4 separate regions of the Homo sapiens genome follow, and regions 2, 3 and 4 are each linked to region 1. The links are contacts of gene promoters, found by promoter capture Hi-C in blood cells and fetal thymus (Javierre and others, 2016). All regions are on one chromosome and are shown on one strand. The core of a region is centred on a gene start or on the middle of the fragment in contact, and the rest is flanking DNA. Distances in the headings are between cores, read along the strand shown.

What was found. The method cuts DNA at HindIII sites, captures the fragments that hold promoters and counts their contacts. A CHiCAGO score of 5 or more calls a contact.
Region 2: a fragment that was not itself captured here is called in contact with the fragment with the promoter of TOMM5 in region 1 in 1 of 17 cell types (M2 macrophages); the score reaches 6.4 in M2 macrophages.
Region 3: a contact is called between a fragment that was not itself captured here and the fragment with the promoter of TOMM5 in region 1, in 1 of 17 cell types (naive B cells). The highest score is 5.1, in naive B cells.
Region 4: a fragment that was not itself captured here is called in contact with the fragment with the promoter of TOMM5 in region 1 in 1 of 17 cell types (M2 macrophages); the score reaches 5.9 in M2 macrophages.

The regions. Positions count from the first base shown.
Region 1 is chr9:37,591,157-37,594,112 of GRCh38, forward strand. TOMM5 (translocase of outer mitochondrial membrane 5) reads right to left here and starts at 1,441. Exons shown (of 2, transcript NM_001001790.3): 1 at 1,256-1,441. The coding sequence starts at 1,376. RefSeq lists an enhancer at 1,038-1,797 and a silencer at 2,756-2,956. The HindIII fragment of the contact is 19,627 bases long and covers 1-2,956 here.
Region 2 is chr9:38,365,134-38,368,089 of GRCh38, forward strand. The region is part of intron 1 of LOC107987065 (a long non-coding RNA gene); the gene reads left to right. It overlaps LOC105376040 (a long non-coding RNA gene), which reads right to left. Exons shown (of 4, transcript XR_929605.1): 3 at 2,590-2,721. Among named protein-coding and RNA genes, the nearest start is that of ALDH1B1, 26 kb to the right of the region's middle. The HindIII fragment of the contact is 487 bases long and covers 1,183-1,669 here.
Region 3 is chr9:36,858,926-36,861,881 of GRCh38, forward strand. All of the region lies in intron 8 of PAX5 (paired box 5), which reads right to left. Among named protein-coding and RNA genes, the nearest start is that of MIR4540, 3.9 kb to the right of the region's middle. The HindIII fragment of the contact is 257 bases long and covers 1,436-1,692 here.
Region 4 is chr9:38,294,860-38,297,815 of GRCh38, forward strand. No RefSeq gene overlaps it. Among named protein-coding and RNA genes, the nearest start is that of ALDH1B1, 96 kb to the right of the region's middle. The HindIII fragment of the contact is 3,642 bases long and covers 1-2,956 here.

The DNA of each region.
Region 1 (2,956 bases), core at 191-2,690:
AATGATATAAAGAATCTTAGGCCCTGCCTCCCTCAAAGGTCCACTGTCAAGACTATATAATGGGAGTAACTTCCTGTCAATTTTAAGATATAGAAAAAAAAACCTCAAATATTTGCATTAATCCTATAGACTCATATTCTTTTTTCCCATTTTTTTCCAAAAAACTAATGACTCACTTCACCCTCTATACAAAGAAACAGAAATGAAGCAAAACTTTTTGGATTTCAAAGGTCAGCACTTTTGAAAGGGAAGGAACCCGGCCGCTGGTTCACGCCTGTAATCCCAGCACTTTGGGAGGCTGAGGCAGGTGGATCACCTGAGGTCAGGAGTTCGAGACCGGCCTGGCCAACATGGTTAAACACCCATCTCTACTAAAAATACAAAAATTAGCCGGGCGTGGTGGCGCGCGCCTGTAATCTCAGCTACTTGGGAGGCTGAGGTGGGAGAATGGCTTGAACTCGGGAGGCAGAGGTTGCAGTGAGCCAAGACTGCGCCACTGCACTCCAGCCTGGGCAACAGGGCGTGACTGTGTATCGAGGAAAAAAAAAAAAAAGAAAAGAAAAGAAAGGGAAGGAACCTGGTACTGAGTTAAGAGTTCTGGATTTTAGGTCAAGATCATTCACTGAATCGCTGAGTGACCTTTGGCCAGCCTTCCCAAGAAGGCTGTTTCTTCCTTCTAGAACTATGGTTCTGTTTCTCTGTTTCTCTGTCTGCAAAAACGAGGGAGTTCCTCTAGGGATAATTACTTGAGCTCTTTCAGCTCAAACATTCTTTTTTTTGAGATGGAGTCTTGCTCTGTCACTCAAGCTGGAGTGCAGTGTCGCGATCTCGGCTCACTGCAACCTCCGCCTCCTGGATTCAAGCAATCCTCCCACCTTAGCCTCCCGAGGAGCTGGGATTACAGGCGCCCGCCACCACGAACTCCTGACCCCAAATGATCCGCCCGCCTCGGCTTCACAAAGTGCTGGGTGGGATTACAGGTGTGAGCCAACGCGCCCGGCAGCTCAAACATTCTTCAAGCTGGGAGAACCAGGATGATTAAACACGCGCGCCGGCCACCACGTGCACTTCAGTGCCCGGACCCTGACCCGCAGACCTCAAACCGCGCATATGCCCGTCGCCTTCAACGCGCACCCTCCTTGCTCCCCGCTACCGTTCAGCTCAGTTCGAAGGCCCCGATGACCCCTTAGAGTTAAGGGGTGCCCGTCGGTGAGCTCCCCGCTGGTCTCACAGTCACAGCCCGGGAGACACTCACTGACTCGCAGGAGGGCCACGTAGATGAGAAAGTTCCGTATGGAGGAGATCACATCCTCGCGCATCTTCCGTTTCATCTCCTCCGGGTCCAGCTTCGGCGCGAGGCCCTCAATCCGGAACATCGCGGCTCTGACTTAGCAGCTTCCAGCCGCCGCGCTCTGCTCTCCACGGTGGCCGCCTCGCGCCCGGAACTCGGCCTATCCTCACTTCCTGTTCCCGCCCTCTCGTTGCCACACTCGACGATGGATGCCTGCACGGGACAATCCACGTCCTGACCCAGCTGATCTGAAGTGCGGTGTGAAGCGGGCGGCCGCAAGCTCAGCAACGCAGGCTCTGGTTTCTCCACGCTGTCTTTAATAACATCTGTCATACAAAAATCAGCCCGGCTCGGTGGCGCGTGCTTACAATCCCAGCTACTCGGGAGGCTGAGGCAGGAAAATCGCTTGAACCCAGGAGGGGGATGTTGCAGTTAGCCGAGATCGCGCCACTGCGCTCCAGCCTGGGCGACAGAGCGAGCGAGACTCCGTCTCAAAATAATAATAATAATAATAATAATAACAACAACAATAACATCTATCTTGAGCCTGGAGCGCTGCGCTGTAAAGTGCTTTTACGCGCTGGAGGGGGCTGTGCACATAGGTACCACTGTAAACAGTGATAACTAACATTTATTGAATATTCAATATAATTGTCCCCCGTGAATTCGATATTATAATCTTCGTTTCCTAGATTAGACAATTGAAGCACAGAGATCTTTAAAACATCTTGCCCAAATGTGCTTTAATTTTTATTTATTTTTTTATTGCTAATTGTGGTGGTTGAGACTGTTCTGGAACTCCTGGGTTCCAGGATCCAAGCGATCCTCCCGCCTCGGCCTCCCAAAGTGCTGGGATTACAGGCGTGAGCTATCGCGCCTGGCCCCCAAATGTGCTTAAAAATACCTCAGAGGGGGAAAAAAGTATTGAGAGAGATAAGTGATGTCAGCAAAATATTAAAAACTGCTGGTGACTAGTACTTCATTTTAGTTAATTATTCTAGTCTTTCTTGAGTATGTTTGAAACTTTACATAAGTTAAAACAAAGAGACAAAGATGAAACTTTTTTTTTTTTTTTTTTTTTTTTGGAGACAGAGTCTCGCTCTGCCGCCCAGGCTGGAGTGCAGTGGCGCAATTTCAGCTCACTGCAACCGCTGCTTCCCAGGTTCAAGTGATTCTCCTGCCTCAGCCTCCTGAGTAGCTGGGATTACGGTTGCGCAGCACCACGCCTGGCTAAATTTTGTATTTTTTGTAGAGACGCGGTTTCACCATGTTGGCCAGGCTGGTCTTGGAAACTCCTGATCTCAGGTGATCTGCCCACCTCGGCCCCCAAAAGTGCCGTGATTACAGGCATGAGCCACCGCACCTGGCCTTTTTACAGATTATTGAAGCACAGAGGTCTTTAAAATACTGTTAGCCAAGTAACACAATATGTATAAAGCAAGTTCAAATCTGATCAGCATTTTACAGATGAATAGAAAGAGGCTCAGAAACCAAGTCCAGCTTTGGTGTGAAGCCCTTTATCTGGAACATCGCAGCTGAAGTCTAAAGTGCACTAAAGTCTAGTCATTCTGCTGGTGATGCACGGGCAGGGTTCTAATGCAGATAATTATCATGTCAAGTTGAATTATCTTTCCCCTGCACCCTACTGCTCATCTGTTAGTCTTT
Region 2 (2,956 bases), core at 176-2,675, 770 kb after region 1:
AGATCTGGAGGCAGGGCATTTGATGATAATTTGACATAAATAAATGCCTTGAGAAAAATGTATACATATGTCCTTTTAAGGATTGCTGCCATAGATAAACCAAGCAGTCATGTGAGATCCGGGGCATAAGACTTTTTAAAGTTAGATGTATTAAGGTTTTACATATACTAAAATTCACCAGCTTGAGGTATACAGATCTGTGAAACACACACAGCCTTTAACCACCACCATAATCAAGACATAGCATATTTCCATCACCCCAAGTGCTGCTTCCTGCCTCTTTGTAATCAGACCCCTCTTTCCACCCCAACTCCTACAATCCTGGTCTATTTTATGTCCCTTTAGTTTTATCTTTTCCAGGACATCATAAATGGAAGCATAGATGGCCTTTTAATTCTTTTTTAAATTAAGGTATTCTTTACATATACTAAAATGAGGTATTATTTGCATGTTGTATTTACATATAATTTACATATAATACAATGTATGCTTTTTGGTATACAGTTCTGTGAGTTTTGACACATACAGTCATGTGACCACTACATCAATCAAGATACAGAGCCATGCTATCACCTCAAAAAATTCCCTTATGCATGTGCCTCCATCGACATCCTTCTCCCCATCCTGGCAATCAATCATCTATTTTCTGATCCTATAATTTTGCCTTTTCCAGAATGTCATATAAATAGCGGACTACAGTATGAAGCCTTTTGAGTCTTCCTTTTTATTGCTGAGCAGTATTCCATTGCATAAATGCACCACAGTTTGCTTATTTATTCACCAGTTGAAAGACATTTAGTTTATTTCCCAATGTGGCAATTATGAATTATTCTTTGTGTTCACGGCTGAATTTGCTTTGATAATATTTTGTTGAGGATTTTTGCATCTATATTCATAAAGAATTTTAGACTGTAGTTTTCTCCTTTTTTTGGAGAGTCTTTGTCTGCTTTTGGTATCAGGGAAATGTCAGCCTTATAAAATGAGAAGTGTTTCCTCCTCTTCTATTTTCTGTAAGAGTTTGTGTAGAACTGGCATTATTTCTTCCTCAAATGACTTGGTATTAGAATTCACCAGTAAAGCCATCTGAGTCTGGAGTTCCCTTTGTTGGAAGCTTTTCAATCTTAAATTCAATTTGTTTAATAGATATAGGGTTATTGTTGTTATCTATTTCTTCCTGAGTGAAGCTTGGGTAGTTTGCATCTTCCAAAGGATTTGTCCATTTCATCTAAGCTATTAAATTTGATTATTATAAAGTTAAGGAGAAGTCAGTACTGAAATAACCAAACACATGAGTGAATGGCTCACCTAAGAAGACCATAGAGAAAAAAGAACAGAGATTCTGGGTTTAAAAATTACTTGAAATTCATGAAAAACTTTATGCTTTTTTGAAATGAAACAGTTTATTTAAAAGTACAATTATGCACAAGGATGTAAAGCAAAGTCTTAATATAAAAAATTGGAAACCACATAAATGTCAAGGAAAGCAAATATGGTATATTCACTTGATGGAATATATGTTATTCAAATTGTGTCAAAATATGCACAGCAAAATCTAGAGAGAAATACACCCAAATAGTAGTAGTTTTTGAGGTTTTGAGTCTATGGAGTTGCTTATTTCTTCTTTTCTATATCCTTCAATAATACTTTAGTAATATCTTGATTGATTATAAGCTTTCTTTGACTCATTTTTCTACAAATTCATTTTTTAGGTCATCAAAATTTATACTTCTAACCCCATTTTTCAGTGGACACAACTGAAAATAACGTTAGTCACTCAATAGCACATTCTCCTGCTGGTGGTCACCCTTGGAAAGGAAGCAGCTCATCATTCAGTCTCTCCTAGGTACCTGGCTTGATGATATTGCTGCAGGGCAAAGAGCTCACTCGCCATCAAGGGTGGTTTGTTTGCAGTGTAGCCACATCTCCTCTCTCCTGGGGCCTGACTCCTGCCACCACTGCCACCAATATGAGCCCAGGTCCTGGGCCTGGCCACCCCTCAGGGTCCTACCACACCCTGGACACACCCCAAGTGTAGTGTGTATGCACTTCAGGTGGCAAGGCCAACTGCTTGATCTGCACAGTGTACACTGTCCCTGCAGACCTGAGCCCACGCATGCATGCCTTACCACCTGGCATATATCCTCTGCTCACGTGCAGGCTCCATTGTACTATCAGACTTCACTACAAAGCAGGTTGAAGGGTAAAATTATTAAGAATTTTTTTTTTCTTTTGAGACCAGGTCTCACTCTGTTGCCCAGGCTGGAATGTAGTGGCATGATCTCAGCTCACTGCAACCTCCGCCTTCTGGGTTCAAGTGATTCTCCTGCTTCAGCCTCTCAAGTAGCTGGGAATACAGGCGTGCGCCATCGTGCCTGGTTAATTTTTGTGTTTTTAGTAGAGACGGGGTTTCACCACATTGGCCAGGATGGTCTCAAACTCCTGACCTCAGGTGATCCGCCGACCTTGGCCTCCCAAAGTGCTGGGATTACAGGTGTGAGCCACCATGCCTGGCCAAATTACTAGGAATTTCAAGACAGCCACAGTAGAGCATAAAAATCAAGTGCCTGTACAACTGCAGAGGTCTCATACCTGTAAAGCCAGCCTGGAGCAAGAACACGGAGGCCTGGGCAGCAGAGGCTGAATGTGGAGTAGTGTCATCCCTTAGAAGTCAGAGTGGGCACAGTGGGTGGGCAGGTCCAGTGATTGATAGTCCTAGGATGCCTACCAAACATACAAATACACACCATCTTTACCACAGTGTAATTTCTGTTGTAGAAAGTAATAAGAAATAAAAAAAAAAAACCACCATGAAGGCAGATACTATTTCTCAGTTTAATTTATAGCTAAAGTCCCAGGGCCTAGTCTAGTGCTTAGCAATTAGCAGGTAACCAATAAATATTATTAAATATAATTGCAGGGATTCCTATTCTTATCTTTTCTAGTTAGCTTGATAACT
Region 3 (2,956 bases), core at 314-2,813, 730 kb before region 1:
TGGGAAGTCGCAGTGCTAGTCCCGACCTGCGCTGCCTGCCATCAAATTTTAATGCTTCTGCTGACATATTTATGGAATGCCTCACCAAGTGTCTGCGAGGAGACCAGACAAGATTTACCTCCACAATTACTACCAGGACGCTCGGGGTTCACTGTGTGCTGAGAACTCAGCAGCACAGAGGCCCCGATTTCCCCTGCACCCCGAGGAGCGCGCTCAATTCTGCACACCCTTCCTGCCCCCGGCAAGCCAGGCCTGGGGCTGGAAGAGGCGGAGATGAATCAGACACGGTCCCTGCCCACGGAGAGCCCACAGTCTGCGGGAGGGGCAGGCGCGCACATAAATTACTTGCAACCCTGGGAGGCTGGGGCCAGTGTGTTTGTACAGGTATGAAAGCCGGGCCGGGCTGAAGTAGGGAAGGGAGAGTTATTTCTCCTAACAGAGTCAGGGTCAAGGAAGAAGCCAAAGACCCAGGCTGGACCACCCAGCTGCTTCGGCTCTCCTGGTCACTCCTCTGGCTGAAAAAGCTCCCAGGGCCTCTCCCTCCCTCCCCCTGCCAGCCTCAGGGTCTCAGTGGCCCCTCTCCTTCAGCGTCTGCACCCGACATTCATTCCTTTGGGGTTCTCTCTCCCAAGGCTGACTGAGAGTGGGATGTGCCCCCTCCTCCCTCCCCGGCTCCTCACCCTTCCTCACTGTGTCCGCAAATTCCTGTAAGTTTTACTGCTCTCCTACAGCAAAGCTGCCCTGAGGGGAGGTGGAGGCGGGCAGGAATAATGCAGTGACCCAGGCCAGTGGCTGTCAAGCCTTGCTGCACATTAAGAATCATCTGGGGCTGGGTGTAGTGGTTCACACCTGTAATCCCAGCACTTTGGGAGGCCGAGGTAGGTGGATCACGAGGTCAGGAGATCGAGACCATCCTGGCTAACACGGTGAAACCCCACCTCTACTAAAAATACAAAAAAATTAGCCAGGCATGGTGGTGGGCACCTGTAGTCCCAGCTACTCAGGAGGCTGAGGCAGGAGAATGGTGTGAACCCGGGAGGTGGAGCTTGCAGTTAGCTGAGATCACGCCACTGCACTCAAGCCTGGGTGACAGAGTGAGGCTCTGTCTCAAAAAAAAAAAAATCATCTGGGGGCCGGGCATAGTGGCTCACACCTGTAATTCCAGCATTCTGGGAGGCTGAGGCGGGTAGATCACGAGGTCAGGAGTTCGAGACCAGCCTGACCAACATGGTGAAATCCTATCTCTACTAAAAATAGAAAAATTAGCCGGGCGTGGTGGCACATGCCTGTAATCCCAGCTACTCAGGAGGCTGAGGGAGGAGAATCACTTGAACCCAGGAGGCAGAAGTTGCAGTGAGCCAAGATTGCACCACTGCACTCCAGCCTGGGTGACAGAGCAAGACTGTCTCAAAAAAGAAAAAAAAATCATCTGGGAAGCTTTAAAAATCCAGATGACCAGGCCATATCTCATACTAGTTCACAGGGAGCTCGGAGTAAGCGGGGGGAGGCAGATGGTAATATTTGTCGAAACTTCCAAGGTGACGCCAATGTACAGCAAGTTTGAGAGACAGGGGGCAGGGACTCGGTACTCAGTGTGCAGCATGTTAGAGGACAAGCCTCCTGCACCCACCCTCAACTCTATGAAGCAGAATCTGCTCTCTGAGATGATCCCTGATGATTTGGGTGCAATAAAGCTTGAGAAGCACTGATCCTTGTTAAAGAGTTTCGCTAGCGTCCTCAGAGGCATGCTGGTGTCCAGTTCCCACGGCCTCTGAAATGGGGCCCCTAAGGAGACTGGCTTCTAAGCAGGCAGCCACCATAAGCTAACCACTGAGAAGGGCTGGCTTCTATGGGAGACTCCAGGCAGGCCACAAGGCAGCCGCCACCATGACTCAGTGAGCTTGACAGGGCCATTCCATGGAGGGAGCTGAATTAGGATGACCCTCACAGCTCCCAAGGCTGGACCAGAAGGCAGGAGCCCCATGCAGTCCTGTGCTGATGAAGACCCATTTTTTTCTAGGAGATTTACACTTTCATATGTATCCCCTGTGACCAGCCCACACACCTGGCTGAGAGATGGCTCTGCAGGGAGGGAGTCAGCAGGAGGGGAGGGGAGGGAAGAGGAGGGGAGGAAAGATATCTTGGGAGGCCAAGGAAAGATAAGTGAAGAAACCACCTAAGAGGGCAAATGCAGGGCTCAGTGGGAGGGGCCCAGAGATGTCCTGAGGAGCCCTGGTGGCATCTGCCTTGACACCAGGTCCACTGCAGACAGTCGCAATTTCATCCATCCATTCATCTATCAGATATTGAGTGAGGGCCTACTAGGTACCAGGCCCACTGCAGACAGTCGCAATTTCATCCATCCATTCATCTATCAGATACTGATTGAGGGCCTACTAGGTACCAGGTCCTGAGGATATAGCCCTGAACAAAGCAGATAACAGTCCCTGCCCTCATGGAGCTTATATTCCAGTGGTACAAACAAAACAGTAAACCAGACAAGTAAAAACAAAGCGTCCGGCATGCTAGATAATGATGGGTGCTAAAGAGAAAACATGAAGCAGGAGACAGAATAAGAAATATTGGGAGGAGGTGGAATTTTAGATGGAGTGACCGGGGATGACTCCACTGAAAAGGTGACTTTTGAAGAAAGAATGAAGGTAGCAAGAGTTTGCCATATGAATATCTGTGGGAAGGGCCCTCTAAGCAGAAGGAACAGCAAGTGCAAAGGCCCTGGGGCAGGAGTGTGGGAGGTGTGTGGCTAGGACAGCCAGGAGGCCTATGTGGCTGGAGAGAAGCCAGGGTGGGGAGAGGGGAGAGAAGGCCAGGGAGGGAAGTGGGGAGTGGGAGATAGGTCAGGACTTTGGCCTCTACTCTGAGTGTGCACAGGAGGGACGTGTCCTGACTCCAATTTTCACAGGCTCACTGCAGCCACGTTGTTGTGAATAGACTAAAG
Region 4 (2,956 bases), core at 157-2,656, 700 kb after region 1:
CTTCAACTTGCTGAACCAGTTGCCTAAAGCCCCACAGAGCACTGGGACAGAGCTGGTGTTGAACACCCAAGCCACACACCCTCTGAGCAAAGAAGAATCAAATCTAACAAGGTCAACAAGCACATCTGAACATAGGCTGGAAACAGGGAGAAGCATGTCACAGTAACCATGTCCAAAAAGATCCCAGTCAAGGCAGTGGGGTAAGGAAGTATTCCCTCTGCATTTTCTTGTTCTCTATGTGGACTTCTGGTAGCCACCATCCTGTGCCCACAGCCCCACAGAGAGGGCCTGGAGGGTACAGTAGAACCCTTGGACAGACCAGCACTGACATTTCAGGGTGGAATTATCAGGGCTCTCCCTTTAGTCCTTGTTGGGATCACTGCCAAGTCCCTTTCTCTGGTGTCAGCCTCTGGCCCTCTCTGTCATTTGTACTGTTGACCACTCACCACTACCAGAGTCCATATCCTCCCTTGCTCCTGGGACTCCACAGTATCCAAATGTACTCTCTTTTTCTGGCTGTTTTATCTCTGCAGACACGTTTTCCTCAGCCTATTCCTTGAAGATTGGTGTTCTCCAGGACCATCTTCTTTTCTATCTATCCTCTCTCTCTCTCACTTTCTCTATCATTTATCCTCTATCAATATCTTCTATCATCTATCAATATCATCTATCATATATTCATCCATCTATTATCTGTCTATATAATCTATCCGTTCATCCATCATCTAGTATCTATATCAGCTATCATCCATCTATATTATCTATGTCTATCTATTATTTACCTACCCATTCATTTATTATCTATCTATTCATTTATTCATTCATTCATCTCTATCACCTGTCTATCCATTCGTCTATCAATCAATCAACATCTGTCTATTCATCTATTTATCATCTATCATCTATCTATCTATCTATCTATCTATCTATCTATCTATCTATCTATCTAATCTATCCACTCCCTGCACCATCTTGCCCACCCTCGTGTCTTCCATTAACCCCATGTGATGACTCTCCAGAGTGCCAGATGTATTAATCCACCTACCTACGTAACTTCTCCACTTGATGCCCTGCAGGGATTTTTCTCACATAATGAGTCTAGAAGCAGGCAGTGTCTTGCATTGACTCAGCAGCTTAAGCATGTCCTAGCTGAAGTCTCTGGTTCTCTTAGCCTTTCCCTTGTGGTTGCAAGAAGGCAGCTGTAGCACTGGCCATCTCATCTGCATTCTAGACAGGAAGAAAAAAGACATGGAGAAGGGCAAAAAGACACCACTGGTTTAGAAGCCTCTTCTAAAGCGTCTTCCAAGAAGCTCCGCCCAACTGCTTCCCCTTTCATCTCCTTGGACGCTCCTACCTTCAGAGGGGCAGTGTCTTATCTGCATCTAGTTTTAGTGAGCACACTGCCATCCCCATTGTGGAAACAATAGGGAACAAGAGGAGACATCTCCCTAGACTTCTCAACCCTCTCCCCTGACTGCATCAGGCTTCTCCCACAGCCCCCTACCTGCCTGTACCCCTATCCCTCTTGGCCCCTCTGATGGGCTCCCATCCAGAGCCAGAATGATCTTTCTAGCATGAGACCCTGGTTCTAACACCCTCAGCAGCTGCTTCATCAGGGGTCTGCACCTAGATGCCCCTAGATAAAACTCACTGACCCACAGGATAAAGTTCTCAGCCTAACCTTTAAGATCCTGGAGAATCAGTATAATCTCCAGAAACTGAAAGTTCTATTTCTTTGCTGCAATGCTCCTCGTGGGTTTCAGAAAAGTGCAGGCATCCTTGAGGGGGAAGGGTGGCTGACAACAGAGGATTTAAAAAACAAACACATTAGCTCTGGCCTGCCCAGATAATGAATAGAGGAGAAGGTTATCTATCTCACTGATTTATGTTGTTACGGTTTCTTCCATAGACCAAAGTGGGAGCATCTTTACATCTCCCGCCTTCCACATTTGCTGTGGCAAGGAAATCACATTTTCCATCAACCCTGGGAATTACTGAACGGCAGTGCTTTTATTTGTTAAGGATTGAACTTGGCCATTTCTTCTATCAGGGGCTGAGTCCTGCTGTTATGCATAACTTCTCATCCAGAGAGACACCATGGAGAATAAATCAGGACTGGGACTCAGTGTGACAGCCACATTCTGGCAGGGCTCTGGGGTCTGGGGGCTAATAGGGTTTCACTGCAGGGAGAAACTGCTTCCAACTGGGCTGGGGAGAGGAGGTGAGGCTGAGACTTTGAAAAATGAGTGGAAAAAATTTTGCCACTTCATAAAACCAGTGTCAGTGGGTGAAACATAAACCATCCAGAGACTATGAGAGCTGGCAAGGCCTTTGGGGAGTTTAGGGCCTCTTAATCTGTGGCTGGGTTTTATGGGGTCTGTGAACCCATGAAATTATGTGTAAACGTTTCTGTGCATGTGTGCATTTCCAGCACACACAAAGGGGTTACAGTTCATTGCTTTCATCAATTCTCAAAGGTCAAGAACTGATCTGGCATGACCCTCTCGTCATGAAGAAAAGAAAACTGTGGGGTCTTTGGGATAGAAGAGACCAGCCAAGTTCCACTGGTAGGAAAGAGGCAGAACTGGGATTAGGAATTTGCAGACTCAGGTTCCAATTTGGCCTGGCCGGATCCCGGCTGTGTGACTTTGGGCTGGTTACCTTATTGCTCTGGTGTTTTATTACACACACATTTAAGGAGATGTCAAGGGGATTTTAAAAGGGAATTAATGACTTCAATACCTACTTACAGGAGGTGTGGAGCTGGTGCTCCATAAGTATTTTTTTAATCACCGAATAATGTTGAAAATCATTCTTTTCAACTATCATCTATTCAGCAAATATTTGTTGACTACCTCTTATATACCACATGCTGAGTGAACAAAGTAGGCACAGTCCCTGCCCTGGCAGAGTGGGAATTAAGAAGGGGCAGCAGTTAAGAAAACAGACCATTGTT